Linked DNA regions of Homo sapiens: region 1 is linked to region 2. The links are contacts of gene promoters, found by promoter capture Hi-C in blood cells and fetal thymus (Javierre and others, 2016). All regions are on one chromosome and are shown on one strand. Each heading gives the region's core, a stretch centred on a gene start or on the middle of the fragment in contact. The rest is flanking DNA. Distances are from core to core; before and after follow the strand shown.

The links. Contacts are between HindIII fragments. The CHiCAGO score rates a contact against its expected background, and 5 or more counts as called.
Region 1: a fragment that was not itself captured here is called in contact with the fragment with the promoter of NSRP1 in region 2 in 4 of 17 cell types (naive CD4 T cells, activated CD4 T cells, non-activated CD4 T cells and 1 more); the score reaches 8.7 in naive CD4 T cells.

What each region holds. Positions count from the first base shown.
Region 1 is chr17:30,378,887-30,384,491 of GRCh38, reverse strand. CPD (carboxypeptidase D) reads right to left here and starts at 5,565. Exons shown (of 21, transcript NM_001304.5): 1 at 4,766-5,565. The coding sequence starts at 5,511. RefSeq lists silencers at 5,090-5,219, 5,520-5,605 and an enhancer at 4,737-5,605. The HindIII fragment of the contact is 1,776 bases long and covers 3,082-4,857 here.
Region 2 is chr17:30,112,565-30,118,371 of GRCh38, reverse strand. It overlaps NSRP1 (nuclear speckle splicing regulatory protein 1), which reads right to left and starts at 1,556. Exons shown (of 7, transcript NM_032141.4): 1 at 1,509-1,556; 2 at 199-292. The coding sequence starts at 1,528. It overlaps MIR423 (microRNA 423), which reads right to left and starts at 1,293; the gene lies at 1,200-1,293. It overlaps MIR3184 (microRNA 3184), which reads left to right and starts at 1,212; the gene lies at 1,212-1,286. RefSeq lists silencers at 1,124-1,193, 1,130-1,731 and enhancers at 1,444-1,543, 1,574-1,673, 1,694-1,813, 846-2,045. The HindIII fragment of the contact is 3,145 bases long and covers 403-3,547 here.

The DNA.
Region 1 (5,605 bases), core at 2,720-5,219, 260 kb before region 2:
TGACAATTTCATATAGTTCAGTCTACGACTTGTATTTCATAATACGTAAATTCCACAGAAAATATGGCTGGTATATATAAATATTCATTGCATATATGTTAGGTTAATAACTTTTATGCTTTTTACATTTACCGTCCAAAGAGAATTTTTAAGATAGGAAGTCTAATTTTTAAAAGGATATTTTGTGTTTCACTCCAGTTTCACAATATACTAAATTCACATTTTCAAGAGAGAAGCCATAGTTGAGAAGATTCAGGAAAAAAACAAACAAAGAAAACAACCTGATTCAGTGAGCTGCTTACAGAGAAAAACAATACACCATGTCAAAGACTAGTCCTCCAATACATCACTGTAGAAGCAGCTCTTTCAAGGCCCAATGTTTCTGATTGGGCCATTAAAAAAATAAATTGACATGGAGGCAAGGCTGCTCCTGTAAAAGAAACATTTTTTTTAATGCTTCTACTTTTAAGTGAACCAATTTACAATTTGGTCAAACTTATCTATATAGAAATACTGAAGAATTCCTTTTATGGTAAAAGCTAAAACCTAAAGGCAAAAAAAATGCTAAAGTCCTATTTAAGCATCTTTCCCTTATATAACAGCTTAAACCATTACTATCAGTAGAGATTAAATACTTTTCTTTTTCCATTCTAAATAGGATTTTCTTGCTTCTGCCTTTCTGTTGTTGAAATTAACTGACCTACAGAAATTCTAAAGGGGGTTGATATATAAGATTTTTCTATATGCTTGAAAAAAAAGTAAACCTATCATGTCTAATTTGAAAGACTATTTTAAGCATGATGAGTAGTATTATCCCAGAGAAGATCAAACAATGAAAATTACTTGTAACACAAAATCTGTTCATCAGAAGACAGATCTTTGCCAATAAGGACACTGATTAAACACTAGCATAGACCATGAAAAGAAACTAGCTAAAAACTAATATAATTATAATTAGCACCCTTCCAGACACCAGAGAAGAATGCCATTTGGTGTAGTGGCAATGGCACAGGCTTTGGAGACAAATTTGGGTAAGAACATTCCGTCTCCCAGATCTGTTGCTCACCAGTAATATAACATAATCAGGAGAAGTTACTGCCTTTAAATTCGCTGAACCTCAGTTTTCCTTTCATTTGTAAAATGGGGATTAATGCTACCCATTTCCCAGAGTTGTCATGAAAATTAAGATAACACACATGAAACATAATCTGGCATAAAGACTACTTTATAGCCCCTGCTCAACAAATGTTCATTTCTTTGGAGGTATCTAGCATCCTGTTTAAGGAAACACTGCCTTACAAACTATCATTCTACTCCCCACTTCCACTGCCAGTCCTTGGGTAATAGAATGATACAGAAACAAAAACTAAGTAAATATTCTAACTTTCTAACTCCACTCTAACCACCTCTCCCCTATAGCTAAGGTATTAACAATTTACTCTCTGGTTTGTAATTCTAAAACAATTTTTAAGTATTTTTCCCCCACTGACTCTGGGAAAGTTATAAGAAGGCTGGGGCAGGTCAGGTAATCCATTCGGCAACAAACATTTCTTGAGTGTCAACTATTTGCCAAATGACGTTTCAGGGACAGATACATCCCAAAGGACATTCCAGGGATAGATACATCTGTGAGCGAAACAAACAAACAAATACCCTCTGGGCATTCATATTCTAGTAAAATAAAATGGATAATTAAATATTCTAAATAAGTAAAGCATGCTACTTTAATTACACATGTTAAGTAAAACTTTAAAATCCAAGATTCTCTACAAAATGCTGTTTCTCATTTTGTTCAACATTTCTTCCAACACTTCTCAGAAATATTGTCAAAATGGCCTAATCAAATACTTTTGAACAATGAAATATTTGCAATCTACTTGAGTAATAAAATTCACTTCGATTTTCCTTACTGTAATTACACAGTTTTGAAAGTACCAGTGTCATTCTTACAATGAAGATTTCAAGAGAAAGTGACTACAATGGCTGTAAGATTATGCTTTGAGTTTTTGTCAAATCAACTTTGCAAATCAACTCCAATCTTATTTGACAGGTACTTTATGGTTTCCATTCAAATCAATTCTCTGAAATGTTTCTCATACTTGACTTCAGTATCACATATCATTCCTTGCATAAGATTTAAAGTAGCTGGTAAATATATTAGAGATATTACAAATGAGTTTATAAATATTAAACAGTTAATCTCTAAATTAACTCTATTACGCTATCCAGGTAACCCTGTAGATAACTTGAAAAAAATTAAGATAACTTGATATCTGACAAACTAAATTTCAAAGATTCAGACAATCATAGATATGTATACATAAGCCCCCAAAAAAATCATCTGCACCCACTCTCAACACTGTAATAATGCTTTTCACAAACACATTCAAATATCATTTATATGCTAATTACCTATGAAAATTTAAGCAGGTATATTCACTTAAAGAAGCATAGCGGTCAACTATAAAAAAATAGGAGTCAACTATAAAATCTTCATTTGAATGATAAAGTTAATTTTTTTATATATTTTCTTAAGTATTTGTCTCAACATCCATTGGATGAAGTATAAAGTGAAACAAAGAAAATAAACTTCATTTTCCCAAGCTGGAGGAAATTAAGCCTTAAAATTTTACATATTCGAAATAACAACAAAAATCTAATTCGAATATAGCTGGGTGAATAGGATATCAAGAAATTACTCAAATGGTTTACCTCACAAAATACACTGAAAAAGGTAGTTTTCCCATACAGACTAATGTTTGAGTATTTAAAAATATCCCATCCATAAAGTTGACACTATATTTAGGCATCAATATCAAATTGTGTGTGTGCTTGTGTTTTTAATTTTATTCACATATCAGTGTCCTTTGTTATTGGTTAATAGCACAGAGTACGCATTTTGAGTGAATTCTTGAAGACTGAGTTAGGATGGATGTACTCTTTACCATATATGATCACCTACTTTCCCTTTTGATTAATGAGAGTTACATATTTGAAGAACAGATATGATTAGGGTAGTCCACAGCCACAGACCAAAATGACTCTGTATAGCCTCAAGGCGACTTGCACCAAGAAAAAGCTTATTTTCATATTTGGTCACAGCACAACTAATACTGAAAAGAAAAATCCAGGCACAGAATTTACATCCCTGCAAGGATCACAGCATTTTAAAGGTGCAAGGACAGAGCATTTTAAACATTTAAGCAATGCAAACGGTGCATTTGTTGTATCATCTCCAAAAAGCCCTGGCCATCACAGCTCTGTCAATAAGTGTATGTCAAAGTCATATTTCTTACGCAGATGTTCAGAGGTGATGACACGATCGTATTTAAAAGAAAAAAAAATCCTCCCAGAAAGTCTATGTGAAATTATATATCTACAAGAGAGCTTATCAAGAGGAGTAAAGTAAAAGATAGAAGACGAAAAGACTCAGGAACTGTCCTAACACTCAAGAATTTTCTAGATCTTCTATATATGACTGAAATCTTGTAGAAGAAATGATTCCAAGTCCCGCAGGGAAACTTCTTTATCTTAGCAGTCCCTCAGAAATCTTCTTTTAATCCAGATGGAATGATCAGTTATTGCTTCAAAAGCCTTATGAAGATACAAAAATGGGGAAAAGCTGATGCTAGAAAAGGGGAAGAGATGCCTGCTCACTTCAGACACTATGCCATCTGGAGTGAGTTCCCTCTTATTTTATTCCTCTCCTTTTTGCTGAAAATCCTGCCCATCTCTGGAGATAGCTCAAGCTCTACCTCTTCCACAGAGATGGTCCGTGTTATTGCAGCCCACACACATCTTGCCAGTGGGAACAATTCCTGTAAAGTTTAACTGGGTACACCAACATACCTCATAAATATTTATAACATTCTCTTGTTTTATACTAATTTCTTGAGGTCCTCCTTCTTCTACTTTGTAATTTTTTAAACCTCATGCAATGCTTAATAACACTTAAAGTGTGTATTAGAAGTGTGACCATTAGCCATTCTGCCCAGGCTAATAAGGTGCACAAATGACATCACAAACCCTTCAGAGTCTAAAATGAAGCGGCTCACAGATCTGTGCAAGTTCTCCAGCTAAGTCCATATCTTCTTAAGCTGAGTCAGAGGTAAAAATTGGAGAAAAATCAGCTTCTGTCAAATAGGCAAGGGGAAGATCCTGGGAATATCATCTGCCATTTTTGGGCTCCAGTGTCCCTCCGTGGCTAAGAGGACTATCGGGAATCAGATTGCCTAATTCTAAGTCCCAGCCACACTCCTATGTAAATCAGTTAACCAATCTGACCCTCAATTTCCCCGTATGCAAAACTGATGGTGTCTATGACATCAGGTTGTGGCCAAAATAAAGTGAGATACTGCAGTCACAGAAAAAATTAGCACAGCGCCTATAACATTAGGCACTTTTGATATAAGATAACAACATTGACAGCTTATCTATAAAATGTGTGAGCTGACCTAGGTTATCCTTAAGATCTCTTCTCGCTCATATTCTATGCCCCTGTAAGAATAGGGACCAGAAATGTCAGAAAGGAGTGTCCCCTCCAGCCATCCCTTGAACAAATGACAGCCTCTAGGAGGCAATTCTTTGATGATTAGCAGGACGGGAGGCTACGCGGCCTGGGCCCTGTCCCCGTTACAGGGTGTCTCCCTTCACCTTCACCACCGCCACCCCTTATGCCAGCATTGTCTGAGCGCCTACTGGGTGCCGGAACCAGCCTCGGCCCTTGGAGGCTCACACGGACGGGGAGGGGGCAGGCAACACTCACTTGTTCCTGCGGATCCACTCGATGAGGGCGCGCACCTCGGGCACCTCGTCCAGGGCGGGGGGTTCGCCGGTGCTAAACTGGTCGGGAAAGCTTCGGTTGAGGTCGCGGCCGCGACTATTGTCGCGGCCGCTGGCCCCGGACGGGCCGCCGTCGCCGAAGCCACAGTCGCCCTCGCGGGCACGCTCGAAGCCATCGGGGTTGAGGCTGGGCAGCAGGTACACGTCGGTGGTGTTGAGCAGGCGGACCAGGCGCGGGTCCCCGCGGCGGTAGCCGGCCGCCAGCTCGCGGGCCAAGTAGATCAACACCTGGCGCGACACGGTCTCGTCGCCATGCATGTTGCCCACCAGCTTCACCTGGGGCCGGCCGGGCAGCAGCGGCCCCGCAGCGTCGGGCCCGGCAGCGTCAGGCCCCGCGTCGCCCTCAGGGATTAGCGACCCCAGGCCGGCGGTGAGGCGAAGCACCCACAGCGGCCGGCCTTCCACCGAGCGGCCGATGCTAAAGAGGCGGGCCAGGCCGGGGAGGCCCGCGGCCGCCGCCTCCCTCAGCGCCGACTCCAACTCCTCTTCGTGGTAGTAGCGGTCGAACTGGCCCTCGGCCGCCTCGGCGCCCGCGCTCGTAGTTGTGGTAGTCGCCTCCGCCTTCTTGATGTGAGCCGCCCGGGCCGAGCTCCCCAGCAGCAGCAGGCACATGAGCAACAGGAGCCGCCCTAGCCGCCAAGGCGGCCGCTCGTCCCGGCCGCTCGCCATCTTCCAGCAGCGCCGCTAACCCCGGCTCCGCTCCCGCGGCTCAGCGCTCCGGGCGGCGGGGGCCCGCCGGATCCCCTCCTCGCCTAGCAACCCC
Region 2 (5,807 bases), core at 307-2,806:
GTTTGCAGCTTTTAGAGGGAAAAAAATCTTTAAAAAATCGGTGGAGCTGCTTTCTTTACACCTTCCTTTTTGACAATTCTGTAAATTATACTCCACTGTACTGACAAATAACAAAGGCAAAGGTATCAGAGTCACAAGTTCAATTTTTAAAAAATTTACATTTCCAACCATGCACGAGTAAAACATAGGTTTCCTTACCTCATCATCATCATCAGAATCATTCCCAAACACTGATGGTTTTTGCAAAACAGGGTGCAACTGCTGTGTTTTCTTTGGCAAAATAAGCCCATACCTGCATATATTTTTTTTGAAATAGAAATTAAACCTTTATGTTTAAATGTTAACAAATACATCTACTACCTCTTCCACATGAAGCTACCAAATCAAAACATGTCATAAGCTTTATGAACACGTAACAGACTGTTTTTGCTTCTCAGTGATCTCAAAATTCTAACATGCCGTAAGATTCTATAATTACTACTCTAAGTGATCATTTGTGGACACGGGCCAAACTCGAATACCATTTTTATCAAAGAAGAGAAGTAAATGAAAAGTTCAGAAATGTTTTAAGATGGCGAAGTGACAGTAACATTTAAAAAAAAAAAAAAAAAACATGTGTAGTGGAAAGTTTAGTTCATGTCCACTAAAGATTTTAAAATGCTTTCAACTATCCTTGTGGTCTAAACAGTCAAGAAAATGGCTAGATTTTTTTTCCTACTGTGTACTTACACAGTTTCTAAGAACTGACTGGATAGTGTAACTCACGAAAATTTTTAAAAGATAACTGAGAAACCCAAGTAGCCATGGGGCAAGTTCGCATTACACTTTATTAAGATCATGTGCTTTGCCTCGGAGCATCTGAGAGAACCATCCCATCAGATCCAACTCCTTTAGTTTCTCACGTTTTGGCCTTTAAGATGCGGAGATCACGGGAGGCCGCATCAAAAGTAAGGATTACACATCAAAGGTAAAACTTTCAAGTACGTACAGTATTTGTCTCTTTTGCGGCAACGTATACCCCAATTTCCTATATGCCTACCCTTTTTCTGTGGCTTCTCAGAACAATATTCCTAAAACGAGAAGGAAGGGCGGGAATCAGGACTTGAGCTTCTGCCAAGGAGAACAAGGCCCTCTAAGGAAGCCAGGAACTGTCTCTCTTCACACTGCCCCTGAGAGCATCCAAGCGGGGAGAAACTCAAGCGCGGGTTAGGAAGCAAGACTGAGGGGCCTCAGACCGAGCTTTTGGAAAATAGAAAAGTCTCGCTCTCTGCCCCTCAGCCTAACTTCCTTTATTTCCTCACAAGTTTCTCCCTCAAACTTCGGGCTTCCATCCGGGAAAATGTACGGGGGAGGGGAATCTATGTTCCTCAGGACTTCTCGTTTTTTCCCGTCTCTACCCTTGACGACACAGTCCCTTCACTTCCAGCGCATTTAAAACTCCTCGGCCAAAGATACAGTCGCCGTAGTTTCTCATCCCCCAGCCTGACCCTAACTCCCGGATCACTCACTGCCTGCCCGGAATCGCCATCTTGCTCCCGTGTCCGCTGAACGTGGCCGACGCCTCCGTGACGCTGACGCCGATGTCGTCACGTAAACTCTCGCGCGGCTTTGGGTGGCCCGGATCCTGCTTGTCGGTTGAATCGCTGGTTTGAGTCACTTCTATGGTACTGGGAATCGGATCCAGTGACCTCTGTTTTGTTTCGGAGCCCACCGGCTGCCTCAAAATCTGTAGGAGAAAGGAATGACAACGTTCTAGGCCAGTTGTTCGCAGTGTGTGGTTCTGGGACCAGCGGCATCAGCAACACCGGAGATACTGTTAAAATGACAAATTCTCGGGCCCTACCCCAAACCTGCAGAATCAGAAACTTTGGAGTGAAGCGAGTTATCTGAATTTTAACCAGCGGGTAATTCTGATAAAGTTTGAAAACCACTGCCATGGCTATCGATATTCCCCCTACCCCCTTCCAAGTGTTCACTTTAACTGGTTCAGGATAATTAGGCGAAAAATGAAAATCTGTGTATTAATAATACCTTACATAGGACCAAAATTATTATTAAAAAAAAAATTTTTTTTTTGAGACGGAGTTTCGCTCTTGTTGCCCAGGCTAGAGTGCAAAGGCGCGAACTCGGTTACCTCAACCTCCGCCTCCCGGGTTCAAGCGATTCTCCTGCCTCAGCCTCCCGAGTAGCTGGGATTACAGGCATGTGCCACCACGCCCGGCTAAGTTTGTATTTTTAGTAGAGACGGGGTTTCTCCATGTTGGTCAGGCTGGTCTCGAACTCCCGACCTCGGGTGATCCGCCCGACTCGGCCTCCCAAATTGCTGGGATTACAGGCATGAGCCACCGCGCCCGGCCCAAGGACCAAAATTATTAATAATACTGTTCACGGGCCATTGGGTATAGGAATCAGGATCATATATGATACTTTTTTTTTTTTTTTTTTTTTTTTGAGACGTAGTCTCGCTCTTGTCGCCCAGGCTGGAGTGCAGTGGCATAATCTTGGCTCACTGCAACCTCCGCCTCCCAGGTTCAGGCGATTCTCCTGCCTCAGCCTCCTGAGTAGCTGAGATTACAGGCGTCCGCCACCATGCCTGGCTAATTTTTGTATTTTTTTAGTAGAGGCGGGGTTTCACCATGTTGGCCAGGCTGGTCTCAAACTCCTGACCTCATGTGACCCACCCGCCTCAGCCTCCCAAAGTGCTGGGATTACAGGCGTGAGCCACCGTGCCTGGCCCATATATGATACCTTTTTGAAAACTCTGCCCACATCTGTGCACTCATTCACTCTTGGTTCATTCCCAGCTAGTCTCAGAGCAGCCAAAGAGATCAATTACTGAGATAAGGATGTTGAAATCTCCAACTATAATTGCGAATTTGCTTCTCCTTTCAATTCTATCAGTTTGTGTCGTGTATTTTGAAATTAGGTATGTAAACATTTAGGATTGTTACGTTCTCTTGCATTAACCTCTACTAACCTCTATAGCATTAAGAAGTGGCCCTCTTTATTCCTTTATTCTTCTTTGTCTGCTTGGTCTGCTATCAATATAACTAGCTTTCTTTTGATTAATGCTAGCATAGTGTATCTTTTTCAACCCATTTTAATCTATTTGTGTATTTACATTCAAATTGGATCACTTGTTGACAGAAAATAGTTGGGTCTTGCTTTTTTATCCAGTCTGACAGTCTCTTCCATTTAATTTGGATGCTTAAAACATTTTCATTAAAGTGACTATGATTGCAGGCTGGGTGGGGTGGCTCAGGCCTGTAGTCCCAACACTTTGGGAGGTTGAGGCCAGCATGCACAACATAGCCAGACCCCATCTCAAAAAAAAAAAAAAAAAGTATGATTGCTATTTGTTTTCTATTTTTCCCAACTGTGATTCAGCTTATGATTTTCATGCTTCAGCCTCCTTTGTTGGTTTATTGACCATACTTCTTTGCTTGTTATATAAGCTGTTGCTTTAGGGTTTCTAATATATGTCTTAAACTTATCACAATCTGCCTTAAAGTAAGAATCTACCACTTTGTGTATAGTATAAGAAGCTTAGAAAAGTATACTTCCATTTTATCTCCTAGTTTTGTGCTATTGTCACTATGTCATAAATGCACAATAAATTATTTTTGCTATAAAAAGTAACTTGGTTTTTAAAAAGATTTTTTTGAATAGGAAAAATACGTTTACCCACATATTTATCATTTCTGGTGTTTCCATGTCTTTGTATAGATTCAGATTTCTATCTAGTATAATATTTTTAAAAATATTTTTAAAAAGTTTTATTGAGCGATAATTCACATATCATACAATTCATTCATTTAAAGTGTGCAATTCAGTGGGGTTTAGTATAGTCAAGTTGTATGTTTAGTATAGTCATAGTTGTACTACCCTCACCACAATCAATTTTAGTTTTGTTTTTGTTTTTTGAGACAGAGCCTTGCTCTGTTTCCCAGGCTGGAGAGCTATGGTGCATCTCAGCTCACTGCAAGCTCCTGGGTTCAAGCCTCCTGGGTTCAAGCGATTCTCCTGCCTCAGCCTCCTAAATAGCTGGGATTACAGGCGCCCGCCACAACACCCAGCTAATTTTTGTATTTTTAGTAGAGACAGGGTTTCTCCATGTTGGCCAGGGTGGTCTCAAACGCCTGACCTCAGGTGATCCACCCGCCTCAGCCTCCCAAAGTGCTGGGATCACAGGTGTGAGCCACTGCACCTGGCCAATTTTAGATTATTTTTAATACCCAACAAAGAAACCATATACCTATTAGTCACTCCTATTTTCCTCCAAATCCCCCAGTCCTAGGTAAATATTTTATGTCTATAGACTTGAAGTTCTATCAGTTTTAGCTTCATGTATTTTGAAGCTCTGTTATTAGGTTTAAGATTGTAATGTCTTCTTAATTGACTTTTCATTATCAAATAACCTTTATCATTATAATATTCTTTGCTCTGAAATCTACTTGTGTGATATTATAGCACTCCAGTTTTCTTTTGACATTAACTCTAGGGAAAGCAAAAGGATGTACAGGAATGGAAAATAATTGTAATTTACAACATGGCTAAGCTGTAAATAGCATACATAATCATGATAATATAAACACTGAATATTGATCTATTCTGATTACATTACCATGTAATAATATTGGGAAGAATGGATGGGAAGCGTGTGTGTATATATGCTGAGGAAGGAGCTAAATCTTTGTATTGTATACTGGGAGATTAATAGATATTGCCTAAATCGGAAAAACAAAAGTAGCCACACAAGCATGTAATTTAACAATATAGAGGTAAATGTCAAAACCACAGCTAAAATAGGGGTTGGCAAACTTTTTCTGCAGTCAGATAGCAAATAGTTTAGTCCATGTGACCCATATGGTTTTTGTGGCCACTACTCAACTCTGCCCTGGTAATGTGAAAGCAGCCACAGACATGGGCATAGCTATTCCAATAAAACTTTATTTACCATACCAGGCAGCTGGCCAGATTTGGCCAATGGGCTGTTTACCAACTCCTGAGCAAAAAGAATTGAAAGTAGCTGACTCAGAAGCAAGGAAAATAAAGGTAAGGTGGGGCTGGGAAATGCTGTGGTCTCAACAGACCTTGTATAACAGAATGACTTTTTATGAGTATGTGTTACTTTGCTTAAAATAAAGAGTAAAAAATAAAGCCCCCTGCCAGGGCTGCCTGCCTCTTGCTTGAATAGACTGAATGGGGAATTAGTTACCCATAATTACCCAGGGGAGAACTCAATATCCTACATAATTTGAGTTTTTCAATTGTTATATTCTGTATTCTTCCATTGCCTTTGGGACATTTTAATGAAGCAGTCATGGGATTTTCCCTAGGCTAGAAGGGACAGTTTCTCAGATGCAGTGTTGTAGAGTCTGCAGCAGTGGTGGTAACTGCAGCAGTGAGTAAGGGCACAGAGAAGCCTCTTAACATTTTAGAACCCAACTTTTGAAACTTTAACAAGAAATGCTGTAAGGACAAGCTGGGTAAACCAGTAAAAGATAGTATCATCACTACCATCCTCATGGATGTTATACAACAGAAATTTCCAATCATCTTAAACTTCCAGAACAGAACAGTTGACTAAATTGGATCCATTACCGAAACCCTTGGATCTTCCACTTAATCTTTTGACACTAGTGTTACTAATGTTAACTTCACTACTTTCAGTTTCTTCTCTTTGCACCCAATCTTTTCCCCAACCAACTACTCACACCTTTTCTCTACCTATAGTTTCTGCTAACTTGTAGCATCTTGAAGGCAGTATGCACCAACTTCCTTCAAGGCCTGTCATGACACCTTTG